2 separate regions of the Homo sapiens genome follow, and region 1 is linked to region 2. The links are contacts of gene promoters, found by promoter capture Hi-C in human tissues and cell types (Jung and others, 2019). All regions are on one chromosome and are shown on one strand. The core of a region is centred on a gene start or on the middle of the fragment in contact, and the rest is flanking DNA. Distances in the headings are between cores, read along the strand shown. Region 1 overlaps KMO (kynurenine 3-monooxygenase). Region 2 holds the start of MAP1LC3C (microtubule associated protein 1 light chain 3 gamma).

Region 1 (6,247 bases), core at 868-3,367, 440 kb before region 2:
TCTTTTTGAGATGAGGATAATTGATTTTTATTCATCTGTTTTACTACCAAATTATACTGAAATAGTTACCAAACAGTTGTCAAATTACCATTTAAGTGAACTTATTTTTACATTGTTATGAATAAAATTCTCTACCATACTGTTCCCAGAAAACAATTACTATTTCAATTTGATTAAGTGAAGTAAGAATTGAGATTTCATTTCTGTTTGCCTCTTTCTCCATTTCCTCAGCTGCTGAGAAATACCCCAATGTGAAAATGCACTTTAACCACAGGCTGTTGAAATGTAATCCAGAGGAAGGAATGATCACAGTGCTTGGGTAACTACGGGTCAGGTTTTGGACTTCAGAGGTGAAAGCTGGGAGTGGAGAATTGTATCTGCAAACTTTGTTCTTTGGCTCTTTTGAAAGAGTTAAAAGATTATTGAAAGGATCATCCAAATAGTTTCTAGATTCAAGGAATTTTAGATTGCAAATAGGCCCTGATGGCCATCTGAACACCAATGCCAATAATTCTTAATTCTCACACTTGCTCACCTTCCTACTGTACTGTATTCCACACTGGTGACTCTAATGTGCTTCAAACTCTCTCCTCTCTCAAATATACGTGACCCTCCACTGCTCTCCTCCTGTTCTCTTTCCAGGTGCTATTTCTCTGCCTTTCCTTGGATGATTCTATTTCCTCTAAGGTTCCAAGCCTCATATCCCACTCTTGCGATATGCTATGGATCCACGCTCATGGGTTCAACAACCACATCTCTAAGATGAACATTTCCAGTCCAAGCCTCTTTCTTCATTCTAAATCCTTATAGAAGCTCAAATCAATTTATGTTAACTTCTCATCAAACATCCTTGCTGGAACATCTTGCCATTATCTCAAACATATCTAAAACCTTGATCACCTACTTCTCCCAAATCACATCCCATTCCTGACTTCCCCAGAACTAATGCCTGAATAATTTGAATCATTCATGATGTGTTCTTTCCCCTGTCCTCTCCCATTAAATCTATAACACTCCCCAGTCTATCCTACTTTCTACTGGCTTCAGAGTCTGTCTTCCTCCTTCTAGCTGCAGGACAGTACTTCCGGCTCTCATTCCTGCACATGTAATATAATGTGTTGCCATCACCTCATCCCTGTTTTCTGCTCCCTTTGGCATTCGGCCTTCTCTTCAAACTGCCAAGGAAGTTTTCTTAAATTGCAACTCTTCATACATCATTCCCCTAATAGATAATTTCAGTTTCCCTTTTGCCAGAATAATGTTTTAAAATCTTTTATCTTGACATTCAAGATTCTCTTCTTTTCCCCTTCCTTTCTCTCCCTACCTTGTATTCTTTTCTTAAGCTTTTCTTCTAATACCTGTGCTCAAGACAAATGTATTGTTCTTAGAAAATCCTGTGGTTGTTCATACATTCATTCGTACACTTGGAACACTTGCCCTGTTTTCAAGATTCTCCTCCTTCATGCAGAAATCTCAAATCCTGTCACACTTCTGTGGCCTACCAAGTCTTTATTAATCAATATGGTGTTGTGCTATTCTCATAAGCAAACTTATGACTGGGACAAGTGTTTTCATCTAAATGTTACATCTATTAACTCAAAGCTCCAAGTCAAACATGTGAAAGTGAGCTTTCTAAGTTATCTATGGAGCCACTACTTCTCATACCCAGAGGTACATCATCATTTTCACCACTAGACATATTTTTCTTTTGGATGTTTTGTTCTATTTTTCAGATCTGACAAAGTTCCCAAAGATGTCACTTGTGACCTCATTGTAGGATGTGATGGAGCCTATTCAACTGTCAGATCTCACCTGATGAAGAAACCTCGCTTTGATTACAGTCAGCAGTACATTCCTCATGGGTACATGGAGTTGACTATTCCACCTAAGAACGGAGATGTAAGTCCTTGCCCTTTTTCAACCCCTTCCCACAACCCTTGCTCCATGAGCGCGAATGCGTATTCTAGTGCAGTGGTTCTCAGCAGCATGTCTTGATCCATTTTGAGGCCTATCACAAGAACTTTGTAATGAAGAATAAATGGGATGCATGGGTATCTTTTTAACAGCACGATTCTCAGTCCTTCCTTGTTTGATATGCTTTCTGGAGTGAAAAAGAAAGGAGCAGTCTGGGCACAGTGGCTCATGCCTGTAATCCCAGCAATTTGGGAGGCCAAGGCAGGAGGATCGCTTGAACCCAAGATATCAAGACCAACCTGGGCCACATAGGGAGACTCTGTCTCTGTAAAAAATACAAAAATTAGCCAGGGATGTGGCACACGCCTGTGGTCCCAGCTACTCGTGAGGCTGAGGTGGAAGGATTGCTTGAGCCCAGGAGGTCAAGGCTGCAGTGAGCCGAGATCATGCCAATGCACTCTATCCTGAGCAACATAGCCCAATCCTGTCTTGAAAGAAGGAAGGAAGGAAGGAAAGAAGGAAGGAAGGAAGGAAGGAAGGAAGGAAGGAAGGAAGGAAGGAAGGAAGGAAAGAAGGAAGGAAGGAAGGAAGGAGACGGGAAGGGAAGGGAAGGGAAGGGAGAAGTTACAACCCTCTTACTGGAAACACATAAAGGATTTAAATAATATCGTTTGTCTATGTTCTCTTGGGAGAAAAAAACAGGTTGATGATGAATCCTTCAGTATACTGACAATCCAGAGTTCTTATAACCATGATTAAATCAAATAATAGTTATTAAATAAAATGACTAGAAAATTGTTGTAAAGTGATTTCTATTGTGTTTTTCTCATTTCCTGGTTAAACCATATGTGACTGGAGGCAAATAAGTGGTATGTAATGTTTTCATGTTGTCATAAGCAAATAAGTGTAGGAACTTGTTAAGAAAAAATTGCTAACAGAAACAATAAGGATATTGGCTTATAAGTATGGATATGCAAACAACATTAAATACTTGATTTGCATATAAAGCATACATTTTTAAGATGCTGATTTAATCTATCCTCTTAAATCCAGACAAGGGTAAAACAGCTAGTCAATATGGGATAGTGTTGTTAAATACTAAATATCAGCCAGTAAAATCCATATTTTCACATTTCATTACCTTTCTGTTTCATCCTCATGGTCAAAATGTATTCGCTAATTTTTTAGTGCTTATTGTACTGGTTTTCAGATAGCTTCTGCTCTCATGGCCCAGAATCTGATAACTCTGGATATAGGATAACAGAATTCTGTTGAAAAATTGTTCCAGACTTAAGAAGAACTGTGCTTGCTAAAGTAGATTTAAGAAAGCCCTTTATTTTCTAGGTATACATAATAAATAGTAATAATTGATGGTTTTAAAAAATGTCTCCACTCTTTTAAGAACATTGTTTAGGCATGGCAATGTGACTCAGACATGGGAGCATTTTGACATGGTCCAAAAACAAGCTTATGAGACTTTCTCTATTTTTCTTTGTGTCTTTTTTTTCTTTTGTTCTTCATGTAATGTGTGAAATAGACACTTGCACTCTTCTGATGGTTGGAGTTGGGGGCAAGAGATTGGGTAAATGGCTTTCTACCACTAGTATTACTGTTAAAGCGAAGTAATTGCTTTTCATATGTATTCCTCTTGCCTATTGGACTGCACTGTAAGGTCAAGAGTTATGCACGTACTCATTTCTGTGTCTGTGTGTTGGGCTTTCTTTGGGAGTCTGAGGCTAAAAAAACAAGGAAGACACAGTCCCTTCACCTAAGACACAAATAACTATGATACAGTGTAAAAATGTTAGCTCCAAGACTATGCTGTTTTTTTGGTATTCTTACTCTGTAAGCTATACATGGAAGGTGCTCTCAAAACATCTGTAGAAAATAATACAAATATGAAATAATTGGAAAGTTGATTGCATATTTCTATGTATATAATACCCCTGGGAACCTTCAAAAATGTGCGTCACTTGGGTCTTTGGGTCAATTGATCTACCCAAGCAATTAATACTTATTCAGGCTGTTATTGTATTAATAGTAATTACAGAGGACCCACTAAAGAGATAAGACTCTTCTCTATTATTTATGTTATAGGAAACAAACGATAAGAAGCTTGTTTCTAAAATTTTGGTTTGGCTCATGAAATTTAAATGTAAGACCTTTTTGTCCAGTATAGATAAGTTCTGAAATAAGGCAAAAGATAAAGTAAAAAATATATATATAAATATATAATGTATGTGCATACATTATATATGTGTGCATATACACACATGTACACATCTAGATATGTGCATGTGTGTGTACATATATACCAGGTATAATTATACCAGCTATGATTCAAGATTTGAGAACATAAGATGTTCTCTCTGTCTTTTTCCTTACATATACACACACACGCACGTATTCTGAAATCTTGAAATATACCTGGTATCAAAAACCTACCTAAGGTTGAGTTTATAAAGACAGAACACAAAGTGTTTTCTAAGACAACTTCTATTTTATGTAGCAATAGATGTGCGTATCATCGTGTAGATGCTACTGGTTTTAATTACTGTGGAAACTATTATAAAGCTGAGTCCGTTTTATAGGTTTGCTATATGAATGCACTAATCAATCATATATTCTTTTTTCTGCAGTATGCCATGGAACCTAATTATCTGCATATTTGGCCTAGAAATACCTTTATGATGATTGCACTTCCTAACATGGTAGTATAGAATTTTTTATCAACTGTAATTTTGCATTTGTAATTAATGTTGTTTATTACTTACATTTGTACTTAGAATGTATCTACCTAATTGATCTCTTCATTGTTTAATCCATTTAGTGATTATAGCTTTGAAACTTTGGGATTACTGAGGAAAAATCTGAAGGATTTCCAATTATTTACTTTGGAAAGGAGATTTAACTTACATGAATGGATAACAAGAGTTTATGTGTGGTGGTGCCTGTCATCTCCACTAAAGACAATTTAGGAGGAAACAGCCCTTCCAGTAAAGCCAAAGAGATTTAGGTTATCTATCAGGAAGTGATTCAGCCTTTAAGGTCTGTAGTACATTGGAATACGCATTATCAAAAGAGAGCATGGGGATGGGCGCAGCGGCTCACACCTGTAATACCAGCACTTTGGGAGGCCAAAGCGGGAGGATTGCTTGAGCTCAGGAGTTCAAGACTGATGTGGCCAACATAGCAAGACCTTGCCTCTACTAAAAAAAAAAAAAAAAAAAAAATGCCAGGCATGGTGACACGTGCATCCCCAACTACTCAGGAGGCTGAGGTGGGAGGATTGCTTGAGCCCCGAAGATGGAGGCTGCAGTAAGCCGTGATCATCCCATTGCATTCCAGCCTGGACAACAAAGCAAGACCCTGTTTCAAAAAAAAAGAGAGCATGGCTTTTCTTTCATTAGACCCTAGAGACTTTTTTCCTAGGTAGATATAGCTGTTTCTCTGGTTGGGGTCTTTTTTGTTTCTGTTGGTATCTGTCCTGGGGTCCAGGGCCTAGTAATACAATCCTAAAAGGAAGAAAAAGAGATGTCAAATCTAACCAACCTATTAGTAATTTAAAGACTGTAGGCTGGGCGTGGTGGCTCATGCCTGTAATCCCAGCACTTTGGGAGGCCGAGGTGGGTGGATCACCTGAGGTCAGGAGTTCCAGACCAACCTGCCCAACATGGAGAAACTCTGTCTTTACTAAAAATACAAAAAATTAGCCGGGTGTGGTGGTGGGTGCCTGTAGTCCCAGCTACTCAGGAGGCTAAGGCAGGAGAATCGCTTGAACCTGGGAGGCAGAGGTTGCGGTGAGCTGAGATTGCCCCACAGCACTCCGGCCTGGGCAACAGAGTGAGACTCTATCTCAAAAAGAAAAAGAAAAAAGAGTGTAGTATTTGCTGTGTGAAAATGGAGAGTTTACAATATAGAAATTGTCCGAATAATCAAAGAAGCTGGAGAGCACCCCTGGGACTTTGCAGAGCTTTTCTTTGGGAGCAGGGGAACAAAGTGACAGTGCCTTTCCTGTCTGCTTGGACATTCCTTCCAAAAGCTCCCTGGTCACAGCAAGAAGTCTTGTGATTTCAGGAGCCACCTAGTGCCAGCGTCACTTGGCCCCCATCCCCTTTCACTCTGTTTCTCTTCTTCTCACAGAACAAATCATTCACATGTACTTTGTTCATGCCCTTTGAAGAGTTTGAAAAACTTCTAACCAGTAATGATGTGGTAGATTTCTTCCAGAAATACTTTCCGGATGCCATCCCTCTAATTGGAGAGTAAGTTGCAAGATGTGCCTTTTGCTCCATTTGTTTTAATTATTCCAAATTCAAATAAAGGTTATGCA
Region 2 (6,856 bases), core at 3,777-6,276:
GCCCAGGCTGGAGTGCAGTGACGTGATCACAGCTCACTGCAACCTCCACCTCCTGGGTTCAAGCAATTTTCCTGCTTCAGCCTCCCCAGTAGCTGGGACTACAGGTGTGCACTGTCATGCCCGGCTAATTTTTTGTATTTAAGTAGAGATGGGGTTTCACCGTGTTGCCCAGGCTGGTCTTGAACTCCTGAGTTCAGGCAATCTGCCCACCTCAGCCTCCCAAAGCGCTAGGATTACAGGGATGAGCCACTGCGCCCGGCCCCATGCTGCCAACTTCTAACCACAATAGTGACTCTGTGCTTGTCTAGTTCTGTGTTTAAATGGAATGTTGTGAAGATGACCCCTCCCTGTGCCGACAGGTTCCTCTTCCTTTTCCCCTGGTCACAGCCACTCATGGAAGCAGGACCAGTAAGAAACCTACGATTAAAAAAAAAAAAAAAAAACCCGGGTGCAGTGGCTCATGCCTGTAATCCTAGCACTTTGGGAGGCCGAGGTGGGCAGATCACCCGAGGTCAGGAGTTCGAGACCAGCCTGACCAACATGGAGAAACTCTACTAAAAATACAAAAACTCTACAAAAAATACAAAATTAGCTGGGCGTGGTGGCGCATGCCTGTAATCCCAGCTACTGGGGAAGCTGAGGCAGGAGAATCGCTTGAAGCCAGGAGGCGGAGGTTGCAGTGAGCTGAGATAGCACCACTGCACTGCAGCCTGGGTGACAGAGCGAGACTCTGTCTCAAAAAAAAAAAAAAAAAGATAATAATAGAAAGCTCATTAATGGGGGAAAAAAAATCTCCTCCTAGGGAGAAGCTTATTCACTATTTTATACACAGGCAACATATGTGGAAGCATGGCCGGTGACTGCGCCTGTACTCCTTGACTCCACCTCTGCCCAATAAATGCCCTGCATTCACTTTTGTTCAGGGAGGCACTGCTTTGGGAACTATCCCCAGTGTCCTCCTTACGTGTTAGAATTAATAAAATCCCCTTTTTAAATCCTCCTTGGGAGTAGTCATTGGACCGTCACCCACCAAGCGATCAAACCCACCCATTGTGTGGGTTAACTGTAACAGTAGTTAGCCATAGAGAGTTGTGATAAGAAGCCAAAGAATAAAGCTCCTTTAAAATAAAGAATATTTATTTTAGAATACAGCTTGGCACATAGTAAACATGCACATGGTTTAAATGACTTCATGTTGAGAAGTTACAGCTTTGGCATAAATATGTATGGTATAGAAAGACAAAAAGAGAATGACAGAAAATAACTAAATAGAGTGAATGCTGGGGAAATCGAATAATCTCTCTAATGACACAGATAAGAGCACCTCCAGATGAGCTTACCATTGTTCACGCTGGCTTCACTGGGTTCCACAGAGACAGCCTACAGGCCAGAGATTCTCTAGTACCGAGCCCTAGATGGGACACCTGCCCACATGCAGGGAGTGAAACCCACTCCTTAATGGCCCTCCCACATATACCACAGAAGACACTTAAAATATTATCTCTAGCTCATTACACAAAACCATCACACAAGCCAACCATTTCTTATTTAGAATACGGTTATATGGCTGGATGCAGTGGCTCACGCCTGTAATCCCAGCACTTTGGGAGGCCGAGGTGGGTGGATCACCTGAGGTCAGGAGTTCGAGACCAGCCTGGCCAACATGGTGAAACCCCGTCTCTACTAAAAATACAAAAATTAGCCTGGTGTGGTGGCATGTGCTTGTAATACCAGCCACTCGGGGGGTGGAGGCAGAAGAATCACTTGAACCCAGGAGGCGGAGGTTGCAGTGAGCCAAGATCATGCCACTGTGCTCCAGCCTAGGCAATAGAGCAAGACCCTGTTTCAAAAAAAAAAAAATGATAATTATATAACTTTCAAGAGCAGCCCACATTTTTCTTAGAAGGACACAAGAACACGGAGCACAAAAACTAAACTAGGAAGAGCCACCACTCTGCTGCCACTGGTTGGAGCTGATCACCCCAGGCATCCCTGCTTCTCAGACTCCTCCACTGTATACACAGGAGAAAACCAATCCCTTCTGCCAGCATCTGACACGTCTGTCAGAGCACACATCCTTCCCGACATGGGCTAGAGAGGATTGCAGGGTCTGTCCTCAAGGCTGCTCCCATCCCTGGGGGCTGCTGACTCCAGGCAGCCAAATGTCTCCTGGGAGGCGTAGGTCATGTACACGAAGCCATCCTCATCCTTGTAGTCTCTGTAGATCTCTGCCATGGTTGCGCTCATGCTGACCAGGCTCTTGTTGTTCACCAGCAAGTAAAAGGCTTCCGTGGCTCTCAGGACCATGCGGCTCCTGGGATGGGCAGGAGGGTGGTGAGGGTATGGCCTGCGAGACAGCCCAGGGATCTGCAGCCTCATGACACTCAAGAAGACTGAATTGCTCCCTTCTTCTTCCCTGAGATTTAGGAACTACAAGGCTTCCCATTTGGGTCAAAAGGGTGAGGCCATTCCATGGATGAAATATGACAACACAAACAGGTTGAGGAAACATGACAACACAAAAATGCTAAGCAAATAACTTCCATTTGCTATGAAATTAAAGCTATTGGGCTGGATGCAGTGGCTCACACCTCTAATCCCAGCACTTTGGGAAGCTGAGGCAGGCAGCTCACGAGGTCAAGAAATCGAGGCCATCCTGGCCAACATGGTGAAACCTGGTCTGTACTAAAAATACAAAAATTAGCTGGGTGTGGTGGCGTGAACCTGTAGTCCCAGCTACTCGGGAGGCTGAGGCAGGAGAACCAGGAGGCGGAGGTTGCAGTGAGCCGAAATTGCGCCACTGTACTCCAGCCTGGTGACAGAGCAAGACTGCGTCTCAAAAAAAAAAAAAAAAGAAAAGAAATTAAAGCTATTTCCCTAGAAGTACAAAGGTGATGCACAGTCTCGCTGATATTTCACTTTTTTTTTTTGATTCCCCTGCCTCAACCTCCCAAGTAGCTGGGATGACAGGCACGCAACACCACACCTGGGTAATTTTTGTATTTTTAGTAGAGACGGGGTTTTGCCATGTTGGCCAGGCTGCTCTTGAACTCCTGACCTCAGGTAATCTGCCCTGCCTTGGCTTCCCAAAGTGCTGGGATTACAGTGTGAGCCACTGCGCCTGGCCCTAATCCTAACTTTCATTCTCCCTTGGCCATCTTCCATTCACACTGAACTAACTTTAACATGTAAGTTTGCCTAGAGAGAGGAAATCAGAATGCTCTTAACTCAGTAAAACAAAATAAAAAGAGGCCTGGGCAACATCGTGAGACCCCCATCTCTACAGAACATTTTTAAAATTAGCCGGGCACGGTGGTGCTTTCCTGTAGTCCCAGCTACTCAGGAGGCTGAGATGGGAGGATCGCCTGAGCCCAGAAGGCCAAGGCTGCAGTGAACTAGGTTCACACCACTGCACTCCAGCCTAGGCGACAGAGCTAAATAAAGCAAAATAAAAAGACACTCATTCATCGTGTGTTCTCAAAAAAACAGGCTGCAACAGCGATGCAGCTTCCAAGCACTTTTCAACCCTGTTGAAAACTTACTCATCGGGTATATTTACTTTACTCCCAAATCATTTTTTACTGAATCCATGTGTCAAGTGATGTCCTTTATGCTTTAAGAATAGCTGCCTGTTCTTTGCTGTACCTCTGGCTTAACCAAGGGAGGAGTGTGTTTGGGGGATGCTTTTCTCTCTCAGTGTTCTGAGCAGGGAACGTTTCCTTTGGGGAGAAGTCCCCACCCCTAGGCACACATACACTTGGAAAAGGTGCTGGTCTCTGCAACGGACGCGCAGACTCGGTTTCACACAAGATCTGAAAGAAAGGATCTCCCGGCCTAGCTTGAGAGCCAAGACTAACTACTTTAGGAAATTCTTAGAAATGTTGGCAGGTCTTTTTTGTTGTTGTCGTTGTCTGAGGGATTCTCCTTACCTGTTTAAAATAGAGTAATTCTTTTTTTTTTTTTTTTTTTTTTGAGACAGAGTTTCACTCTTGTTGCCCAGGAGTGCAGTGGAACAGTCTCGGCTCACTGTAACCTCCGCCTCCCAGGTTCAAGCGATTCTCCTGCCTCAGCCTCCCAAGTAGCTAGGATTACAGGCACCCGCCACCACGCCTAGCTAATTTTTGTATTTTTAGTAGAGACAGGGTTTCACCACGTTGGCCAGGCTGGTCTCAAACTCCTGACCTCTGCGATCCACCTGCCTCAGCCTCCCAGAGTGCTGGGATTACAGGCATGAGCCACTCCGCCCGGGGTTTAAAATAGAGTAATTCTAAGAGCATCTTTTCAGGGTACTAGTGAATCTAAAAGGTGACTTCAAAAAAATCTCTTTCCTCTCTTCCCCTGACGTGCCCCCATCCCCAAAATAAAACTGCCAAACGAAGAAAGCCCAACAGCCCCGGCGCACCCAGCGCACCTTCCTCCGGGGCACGCTCTGCGCCACCTACCGGATGATGCTGAGGAACTGGGTCATGGTCAGCTCCTGCGGGACCAGGAACTTGGTTTTGTCCAGCGGGGGCAGGAACGTCTCCCTGGGGTAGCGCTCCACTACCACCTGTCAAGAGTGTCAGTCCTTAAGAATGTGACTCAGCGTGAGTGTTAGGAACTTGGAACAGACAGAGGGAAGCTGTTGGCTGCTCTTGGTTTTTCAGAGAACAGGATCGGAACCCCACCCCCACGCCCCCCAGCGGAAGTCCAGTGGTGTCTTACCGGGATTTTGTTGGGGAACTTTGCCCGGATTCCAGCAACTTCCTCTTGTCTGATTGCTGTGAATATTTCAAGCACAAGAGAAGAAGCAAAGATCAAGAAAAGAAGCAAAGATCAAGAGAAGGCCAGATCCGCTCCTCTCTTTAGATAACCCAGAAAGCTACCCCAAGAAATTTACCCAAGCTTTTCCTCTGCTTGAAGGGTCTGACGCTTGGGATTTTCTGTGGAGGCGGCATTGCACTCAGTAGCTGTGTCTGTTTTAAAAAAGAAAAAAAAACTGTCCCGCAACCGGGAACCTAACTCATTCCTCCAGCTGCTTCCAAACTGCCTGCAGGAGCCTGAAGGAGGCCCTTATGTAGGGCTGAGTGACATCAGGCCTCTCCTCTCCCTCCCCTCTCCCCACTCCCCCTCCCTGGGCAGCAGGAGGTCAGTTCTGATGGAAATGGAATCGCCACCTGCTTGCTGGTCAGAGAAAGCCACTTTGTTCATGACCAGTTCAAGATGTTTCTTTGCAAAAGAAATTAGGGTTTGTAATAAAATCATTGGCTGGGCAGCGGACTGTGGAGAGGTAAAACTGCCTTGTGCTGGGATGTTTTTGCCCTTCAGTAGCAAGGGGGGGTCCAAGCTGGATCCACCTCAGCCTGAAGTGTGCTGTGTAGTTCTCACAATGGTCCATGCCCTTTATCACAGAAGGAAACCTATACTAAGAAAGGTGAAGTGATTTGCTCGAGGGCACACAGCAAGTAAGAGAAGCGGTATGGATTAAAACCTAGAGCTGTACACTGGGTGCAGTGGCCCACGCCTGTAATCCCAGCACGTGGGAGGCCGAGGCGGGTGGATCACCTGGCCAACATGCTGAAACCCCATCTCTACTAAAAATACAAAAATTAGCCGGACGTGGTGGCTGGCACCTGTAATCCCACCTACTCAGGAGGCTGAGGCAAGAGAATCGCTTGAACCCAGGATGCGGAGGTTGTAGTGAGCTCAGGTCACACCATTGCACTCCAGCCTCGGCAACAAGAGCGAAACTTCATCTCAAAACAAAACAAAACAAAACAAAAAAAACCCAGAGTTGTTACAAGGAAGTCCAAGTACTACACTCCAGTATATTCTGTCACTTAGTTTTCTCTGGGATAAAAGAAGGAAGGAAGGACAATTGTCCCCAAGATCTTGCTTTTAGAGTTAAGAAACTGGGTCTCTGGTCATACATAGGGGAAACCAAACTCCATTTCTCCTATATTCTCACAACACAGATCACTTTTGACACTAGATGTGTGTGTGTGTGTGTGGGTGGGTGGGGGTTCCCCATACACCGAGCAATCACTTCTACAGTGGACACCAGCTAGGTGTCCTCCAATCCAACTCTGACACTGTCTACCTGGAGACAGCATCAGATCGGGCTGAGGGCTCTGTCCCACAAGACTGTCCCCCACTTTCAATGCCGATTGCAAGCCCCAAGTTGTGTTTGTTGTTTTTTTGCTTGTTTGAAACAGAGTCTTGCTCTGTTGCCCAGGCTGGAATGTAGTGGCACGATCTCAGCTCACTGCAATCTCTGCCTCCTGAGTTCAAGCGATTTCTCCCGAGTAGCTGGGATTACAGGCACATGACACCATGCCTGGCTAATTTGTGTGTTTTTAGTAGAGAGGGGGTTTCGCCATGTTGGCTAGGCTGGTCTGAAACTCCTGACCTTGTGATCCTCCTGCCTTGGCCTCCCAAAGAGCTGGGATCTCATGCGTGAGCCACTGCGCCCAGCCCCTAGCTTGTTTTCCCTGTGCTTCTGATCTATGGGACATAAGTCAGGCTTCCCACAGCCCCCGCCTTGGGTTTCATTAATTGGCTAGAATGACTCACAGAACTCAGGGAAACACTTTTACCGGCTTATTACAGAGGATATCACAAAGGGTACAGATGAAGAGATGCATAGCGAGGTATGGGGGAAGGGCATACCACCCTCCAGGAACCTCCACGTGTTCAGCTAGCAGAACCTAGGCCTTTTGGGTTTTTACGGAGGCTTCATTATGTAAGCAAGATTGATTAAACCATTGGCCACTGGTAATCAATTTAACTTTCAACCCCTCTACCCTCCCCAGAGGCTGGAGGTGGGGCTAAAAATTCCAACCCTCTAATCTCACCTTTGTCTTTCTGGCGACCAGCC

What was found. The method cuts DNA at HindIII sites, captures the fragments that hold promoters and counts their contacts. A contact is called where the count stands out against the background at its distance.
Region 1: a contact is called between a fragment that was not itself captured here and the fragment with the promoter of MAP1LC3C in region 2, in 1 of the 25 tissues and cell types used here (spleen).

What each region holds. Positions count from the first base shown.
Region 1 is chr1:241,560,434-241,566,680 of GRCh38, forward strand. It overlaps KMO (kynurenine 3-monooxygenase), which reads left to right. Exons shown (of 15, transcript NM_003679.5): 6 at 232-319; 7 at 1,734-1,899; 8 at 4,554-4,625; 9 at 6,058-6,179. Among named protein-coding and RNA genes, the nearest start is that of KMO, 31 kb to the left of the region's middle. The HindIII fragment of the contact is 3,176 bases long and covers 530-3,705 here.
Region 2 is chr1:241,994,072-242,000,927 of GRCh38, forward strand. It overlaps MAP1LC3C (microtubule associated protein 1 light chain 3 gamma), which reads right to left and starts at 5,027. Exons shown (of 4, transcript NM_001004343.3): 1 at 4,880-5,027; 2 at 4,705-4,760; 3 at 4,443-4,549; 4 at 1,419-2,314. The coding sequence starts at 4,937. The coding sequence ends at 2,092. RefSeq lists an enhancer at 5,012-5,537. The HindIII fragment of the contact is 15,931 bases long and covers 2,847-6,856 here.